2 separate regions of the Homo sapiens genome follow, and region 2 is linked to region 1. The links are contacts of gene promoters, found by promoter capture Hi-C in blood cells and fetal thymus (Javierre and others, 2016). All regions are on one chromosome and are shown on one strand. The core of a region is centred on a gene start or on the middle of the fragment in contact, and the rest is flanking DNA. Distances in the headings are between cores, read along the strand shown. Region 1 holds the start of MAN1C1 (mannosidase alpha class 1C member 1). Region 2 holds the start of PAFAH2 (platelet activating factor acetylhydrolase 2).

What was found. The method cuts DNA at HindIII sites, captures the fragments that hold promoters and counts their contacts. A CHiCAGO score of 5 or more calls a contact.
Region 2: a contact is called between the fragment with the promoter of PAFAH2 here and the fragment with the promoter of MAN1C1 in region 1, in 6 of 17 cell types (megakaryocytes, naive B cells, endothelial precursors and 3 more). The highest score is 6.8, in megakaryocytes.

The regions. Positions count from the first base shown.
Region 1 is chr1:25,615,125-25,618,936 of GRCh38, forward strand. MAN1C1 (mannosidase alpha class 1C member 1) reads left to right here and starts at 1,667. Exons shown (of 12, transcript NM_020379.4): 1 at 1,667-3,213. The coding sequence starts at 2,674. RefSeq lists an enhancer at 933-1,102 and silencers at 1,293-1,582, 1,603-1,892. The HindIII fragment of the contact is 10,837 bases long and covers 1-3,812 here.
Region 2 is chr1:25,995,977-25,999,788 of GRCh38, forward strand. PAFAH2 (platelet activating factor acetylhydrolase 2) reads right to left here and starts at 2,087. Exons shown (of 11, transcript NM_000437.4): 1 at 2,049-2,087. RefSeq lists enhancers at 1,833-1,912, 2,083-2,172, 2,183-2,232. The HindIII fragment of the contact is 3,571 bases long and covers 57-3,627 here.

The DNA.
Region 1 (3,812 bases), core at 417-2,916:
TGCACAGCTGGCTCCACATCAACCTGCCAACGAAACTCACAAGAGATTGAAATATCTGAATTAGAATTTTATATTTAAGCTGCATATATTTGTGGGATTGGGAAGGATTAGTCATCTCCAGTGACCAAAATGTTTGCACCTGTTACCCACTTTCATTTTCAGTTGAGAGAAAGTTGCATGCCAGGGATATTTAAACATCGAGGGTGGGTCTGCTGTCAGTGGTCTGGCCAGAGGTAGAAGGATGACTGAGTCCCAGCCGCCCATCCCCAGCAGGCCTCAGGGAAGAAGCAAGATTTACGAGGCGAGAGCCTGCCTGGCCCGCTTCTTCTGTCGGGAAAGGCTTCCCTGCAGTATTTTCTGTCTCGTCAACACTGCATTTCATTTTAAATTGCAGCTGAAAGTAGATATTTTCCCTCTTGCCTATTACAAACCTCTTAATTTGTCTCTCCCTCTGCTGTTATTTGTCTCTATAAAGTGTTTTGCATGAAAGACCCACACAGCACAATGTTGCTTCACCCTGGGTTAGGTTTAACAGGAAGGGAAGATGCAGAGACTAAGTCCAAGGAGGAAGATGTGAGGGCCTTGGGGTTGAGGACACGCGTGTCTGGGAGTTGATGCCTGGCTGTTTTTGGAGGTTATCTGTTGCCTGAGTGTCTGTGGGTATGCGGGTGCACATGTCCATGTTTGTACTAATTTACATATATGTCTATGCATACTGTGGTATAATCACTTGGGTGTCCATACCCAAATTAAGTGTATGTTTGAGTGCATGTACACACCCACATGCCAGTCTCTGTGTGCATATAGATCTATGCCCAGACGCACACATGTGCATATAAACACACGTAGGCATCAAGGTAGACGTCCGTCACATTATGTGTGTGGTCTTCTGTAGACACGCCCGGGGCTCTCTTCCTTTCGCTGCTTCTCAAGGCTGCGGTCAGCCTCCCTCCGTGCTCCACCCAGGAGCCCTGGCCCCGTTTAGGGTTGTGGGAAAAGGAAGGCACGCCAGTGGTCTGCGAGGGGGCCAGTGGAAACATCACCTCCGCCGACCCGGCCGCGGTCACAGCTCTCTGGCTTGGCTCCAGCCACCAGCAGCACCCCTGCAGCCCGGCGTTAGCGCTGAGAAGCCCGGGGCAGCCGCCAGGGCGCGGGCTGCCAGCTCCCTGACAACCCCGGGCTGGCACTCGGGGGCGAGAGAGGTCACCCAGCGACGGGCACACCCCTCCAGAGCAACACCGTCTCCGGCCCGCTTCCGGGGGCCACCAACCCGAGCCTCGCGGGCGGGCTGGGGGGTGGTCTCTGTCGCTTGGGGTCCAGCGAAGGCTGGGCAGTAACCAATGGACGACTGTGGCCCAACGGGGATCCCTCGGATGCAGCCAATGCCCTCGTTGCGCTCTCCGCCCCCGCCCTCGCCTGCCCCGCGCCGCTGGACCATTGGCGCCCGCTGGATGGGGGGTGCGCGCGACGCCTGCCCTTCGGGGAGGGCGGGGCTTGGAGCGGGCTGCGCTCCCGCCCGCGCTCGGCCTCTGCCCCGCCCCCGGACGCGCGGCCCTCAGCCGGCTGCGGCGCGGCGGCGGCGGGAGGGGGCGCGGGGCGCGCGCGTGGGCGTGGCCGGCGGGCGTGGCCGGCGGGCGGCAGGAGGCGGGGCGGCGGGCGCTGTCGCAGTGAAAGCCCGAGCGGCGGCGGCGGCGGGGACGGCGGTGGAGGCGGCCGGGTGGCTGTGCGCGCGTGTGGGGCGCAGGCTCGGCGGCAGCGGCCGGTCTGGAGCGGCCGCTGCGAGGAAGACAGCTGCAGCGGGGGAGGCGCGGCCAGGGCTGCGCGCTCCGCGGAGCCGGCGGGGCCGGGAACAGGTGATCCCAGTGGGAGCCCCGCGCCCTGCCGAGTTCGAGGGGCGGGAGCCCGCGCTCCCGGGCGCATCTGCAGCCGCCCAGCCGCGGCTCCGGACCCAGGCATCCCTGCGCTGTCTGGGGCCCGGGGGAAGCCCCCTGCCCCCGCAGGCTCGGAAGTGCCTGCTCCTGCTCCCTGGCCACTCCGGCTCCCAGCTCCCGGCGCCCTCTCCGCGGCGGAGAAAGTTGTGGACGTGTCCCGATAGTCGAGCCCGGGCGCTGTCGCGACCGGGCCGGGTGTGCGCGCGCTCGGGGCGGCGCTGACACGCCAGCCCCCCATCGCCTCGGTCCCCTCCGGAAACTGCTTCTGAAGCTGAAACTTTGGGCGCCTACCAGCGCGGGCGGGAGCCTAGGGGGCGGAGGGCGGCTTGGTGCGGGCCTGCGGGCGCCCCTCGGCGCGGACAGCCGGGACGCCGCGGACGGCATGTGACGGTCCCGGCGGCCGCAGCGCGGGAAGGCGCGGGCCCCGGCGCGGCGGGGAGGGCTCGGCCGGAGGGGAGGCTGCGGCGCGCGGCCGGTCGCTGCGGGCCCGGGCCCCAAGCCGTGCCGCTCCGCTCGCCCGGGCCCCGCCGAGGCCGCTGCGCCCCCGCCTCCTCGCGGGAGGACTCGCTCCAAACTCCCTGAACTTCGGGGACAGTCCCCCGAAGCGGCGAAACTCTCAGGGTTGGCAACCCTGCCCAGGGACCCCCATCCCGGGCGGCGCTCCGGACGCCCTCCCCTCACCGCGCCCCCGCAGACACGTGCCTGGACTCCGAGGGCTTCTGGAGCCACCGGCCGGGCCACGATGCTCATGAGGAAAGTGCCCGGCTTCGTCCCGGCCTCCCCGTGGGGGCTGCGGCTGCCGCAGAAGTTCCTCTTCCTCCTCTTCCTCTCGGGCCTGGTCACCCTGTGCTTCGGGGCCCTCTTCCTGCTGCCCCACTCCTCTCGCCTCAAGCGCCTCTTCCTGGCCCCCCGGACCCAGCAGCCTGGTCTGGAAGTGGTGGCTGAAATCGCCGGCCATGCCCCGGCCCGCGAGCAGGAGCCGCCTCCCAACCCGGCCCCCGCCGCGCCGGCCCCGGGCGAGGATGACCCCAGCAGCTGGGCCAGTCCCCGCCGCAGGAAAGGGGGGCTGCGGCGCACCCGCCCCACTGGACCCCGCGAGGAGGCCACGGCGGCCCGGGGCAATAGCATCCCGGCCTCCAGGCCCGGGGACGAGGGCGTCCCTTTCCGCTTTGACTTCAACGCATTCCGGAGCCGTCTCCGCCACCCGGTCCTGGGAACGAGGGCCGATGAGAGTCAGGAGCCCCAGAGCCAAGTGCGAGCCCAGCGGGAGAAAATCAAGGAGGTATGGACTCAGCCCCCAAACTCCTCCCACCAACTGCCCCCTCTAAGGAGAGAAGACCCTCTGGCGCTCCCACCCCTTTCCCTTGCCTCAGTCACTCCTGGTCCCAGGTCTACTTCTGGCCCTGCAGACTGCACTTTGCACCTTCCCCTTTCCTCCCAAATGTCCCACCTTCTTTCCTCCCTACACAGTTTCCCACCACTCGGGTCAGTTAATCGTCCCCACCGTGACAGATGGCAGCTGAACCCCTAGACCAACTGCCCCCTCACTCCCAGACTCTGGTATGTCGTATCCAACCCCCAGGCCCAGTGAGCTCCACTCCTTCCCTTTGTGGAGTTGCTAATGAGAGTGGAGTTCAGGTTCCTTAGTGCACCCTCTTTTTGCATTTGTGGACACAGAGCCACTGGTCCCATTCTTTTTCACTGTGTGACCTTAAGTCCAAAACCCCTATAGGACCTGCTTACCTAAAAACCCAGGATTTAAGGGGGTATTTGGTGTCCTGCAAATATTTTGTAATCTAGTAAGCAACCTACAAACCAGAGGATGTTGTGCATTCTGTTTCTATTGAGCTTATTGAGCTTCAGAACAATTGTACACAATTG
Region 2 (3,812 bases), core at 837-3,336, 380 kb after region 1:
ATTCTACCCCTGTCACTTATTAGCTGTGTGATCTTGAACAAGTTCCTCAAACTCTAAGCTTCTGATAATTTATTCTCACAACAGAAATAATAACTATGGCCAGACGCAGTGGCTCATGCCTATAATCCCAGAACTTTGGGAGATCAAATGGGAAGGATTGCTTCAGCCCAGGAGTTCAAGACCAGCCTGGGCAACATGGCAAAATCCTGTCTCTATAAAAAAATTAAAAAAAAAAAAAATTAGCTGGATGTGGTGGTATGCAACTGCAGTCCCAGTTACTCAGGAGGCTGAGGTAGGAGGATTGCTGGGGCTTGGGAGCCGGAGGCCACAGTGAACCAAGATTGTGCCACTGCACTTCGGCCTGGGTGACAGAGCGAGGTCTTGTCTCAAAAAGAAATAGTAACTATGGGCCGGGCGCGGTGGGAGGCCGAGGCGGGCGGATCAGGAGGTCAGGAGATCGAGACCATCCTGGCTAACACGGTGAAACCCTGTCTGTACTAAAAAAAATACAAAATATTAGCTGGGCCTGGTGGCGGGCGCCTGTAGTCCCAGCTACTTGGGAGGCTGAAGCAGGAGAATGGCGTGAACCCGGGAGGCGGAGCTTGCAGTGAGCCGAGATCGCGCTACTGCACTCTAGCCTGGGCGACAGAGCGAGACTCCATCTCAAAAAAAAAGAAATAGTAACTACTCACGAGATTGTTGATGAGGATTAAATAATGCATGTAAAGCACTCGATGGATAGAAGGTACTATAACCATAGGAGGCAACTATAATTATTTTAACTACATGCCTCTCAAGTTCCTTATACGTAAAATGGATACTTCGTAAGTGAAAATATTGCCTAGGGCCTGGTGCATTTTCAGTGCTTATAAAATGTTAGGAACTAATTAACAATGCTATGTCTCTCTTTCCTAGCCAAGGTCTCTCATTTTTCCTGGATTAAGCCCTTTGGCAAAACAGATTCTTTCCCAGCAGCCTTTTCAGGCCTCAGACACCCCTACCAAAGCCAGTGTCTACTGAACAGGCCCAGAGGAGCCCAGAGGGAATGGATGGGGCTTAGGTTGCAGCTGTCCTCTCCTGCTGGGACCCTGTTTCTGGTGAGCAGAGGACTGCTGCTCTGCCAGCTGTGTGACACTTTCATCACTGGCTATTTCAAGATACAGTCCAAGATAAGCACTTCTCTTGTGCTTCCTTTCAGACAAAGCTCTCTGAAGACTAAAAGCTCATTGGCCTGACCTTTGGTCTCTGGAGGAAGTGAGGAAATATCATCCAGCTCGTAGACAATGAAGACACCAAGCACTCGAGGGATGAGATTGAGCAACAAGGTGGCAGAGCTAGAGAAGAGGCCTGATAAGAGTGTTCCAGAGCATTAATAATTGTGATAAAAATAATCTCTGTCTCTTGTGAAGGTCTTACAGTTTACAAGGCATCTTCACACATACTAGCTTGTTGGCTCCTCAACACTCCTCACCTGAGACTGATGGAGCAACAGTCATCTCCGTTTTAGAGAGGAAGAAACTGAGTCCCAGAGTTGTATGATTTGCCCAAGGTCACAGAGGGTGAGAGGCAGAGCTGGCCTAGAACCGGGTCTGCTGACTTCGAGTCCAGGGTAATCGCGGATCGGAAAGAAGGAATGGGGACCCTTCTTCCACCGCCATGAAAAACAGAAAACTGAGAGTAAGAGTAAAGTACACAAAGGGTGGAGGAGCATAAAGAAGCCCGGGGTTCAGGGATGTGAGGCTGCAGGGTGAAGGTAGGGCCGAGGAATCAGGGTAGGGCTGTGGGGTCCAAGGTGGGGCTGCGGGGGCTGGGTCCTGGGACGGGAGCTCAGTGGGGATTCCAGGGGCACTGGCCGTTAAAAGTGCGAGGCGACCGTGGGAGGGTCAAGGGAGCGGGTGGCTACAGGTGTCTGAATAGGAAACGTAAAGGACGAAGATTAATGTGCAATTCCTATGACTGAGAGACGCCGAGGCCCCAAACCGGGCCAGAATACAAAAGTCTGCAGGAAGCTCAATTGAGATATAGGTGTTTTCTCCAATCAAACTTACCCAGTCAAGCTGATTCCTCAGAAGCAGCCCCAGACGTTTAACTCGACGGAAATGAGAAACGACCCATGAACCCGTGGCCCTTTGGTCGTCGTAGTTTCCAAGGCTCAAAATGGACGCTTGGAAGCACTTCTCGTTCCTCAATCTAGAACTACAATTCCCGATGTACAGTGCGCGAGATTGCGCATTACAACTCTAAAACTACACCTCCCAGAGTTCTACGCGACCGTCCAGCCCCGCGTGGTCGTGCGAAACCGCCCAAGGCCTGGGATGCGGTGTGATTCCTCCCCCTGGTGGCCTGAAGAGGTGCCGCCGCGATTTCTGCTCTCGAGCGGAGGGTTTTGCCTTAGTCCCGTGCGTAACCCTCCGCCTCACCCTCCTCAAATAGTCCTCAGGCGTGCCTAGAAATGGTCCCCGCTTCGCTTTATTCTCAAGGAGGTGGGAGGAGGTTGGAGTTTGTTTTGTGTCTTCTGCACACTTTGCTTCCTGTAAGAATAATAGACTGATCATTCAAATTAAGGGGACATTCCCTACCAGCCTGCATCTGTTGACACCTGTGATTTTCCATTGTCCTCAAAAGACTCCCTGGCAGAGAAAGGGGAGGAACCCGAGTAATCTGCTGGGCCGCATCCATCCCACATTACTGTCTAATGCTGGTTCTTAGCGACACTGATGGACAAGATACCGCTCCTAGCCTCAACAGAATCACAGTCTAGCAGAGAATTCAGACAAATGAATAATGACAGCACAGAGCCGTGATCTCATGGGGAGACACAGCAAGCGTGGGAGCCTTGAAAAGGGGCCTCTGGCCAGGCTTGGGGGAAAAGGGCGGTGTCCGCAAGGCTTTTTAGAGGGAGTGATGTTTGTTAACATTGAGACCCGATATAAGGAAAGAACGTAGCCAGGAGTACAGAGACTGTGAAGGACGTTTCAGAGTATGGCATTAAGTTCAGTGCTGGCTGCAGCTAAGTGTGAGGGATGGAAGGAGAGTATTCTCGGGGGAGTGGGCGTTAGGCAGAGCCCATCCTCAGGAGTTCTGTAAACTTCTATAGGAAATTTGGATCGTTCAGGCAGCTCAAAAACGTTCAACGGCCCTCTACTACCTATGAAGTGAAGTCCCAACTGCTTAGCCTGACATTCAAGGTCTTCTCCAACCTGCACTCCCCCACGCCCCACCCCCCACCCTTCAGCGCCCCTCCTCTGGGAGCTTTGTTCATGCCTCCAAAGTTTCCGCCGACATCTGTGTGTGCCTCGCACATGTGAGTCGACTCACACTGCCTTGGGTATCTCCTGTATTAGAGGTCTTAACTCTTGACACATTGTGAGCTCTTTGAGGTCAGGTACTGAGTCCTGCAGTCGCCCCCTCCACCCTACTCTTGCAGCCCACATCCCCCCGAAACACCAGGGTCCAGAGTCCCTGCTTTAGGCTCTCCTCTCCTGCCGACACACTGTTGTCACCCCCATCCTTCCAGGAGCCAAGATAAAGTCATCAGGAGAGAGTGCTGGCAGCCCTGCACTGTGGTAATTAAGCCTCGGATCTCATTAAATCTGTGGCTGATGGCGGTGGCCACAGAACCTGAAAAGCTTAGCGCAGATCAGAGAGCGGCTCCCTTTGGCCCATTAATCCGTGCTGTGCAGCTGGCCAGAACACTCACGACAAGCCAGAGGTCCTTGGTCATGAGAGGGACAGCTGGAGGTCATTTCTTTCAGTCTCCTACTCCCAGACCAGGCCATGCTGGAGCCATTTGCTGGCCAGCTGAGTTTAAA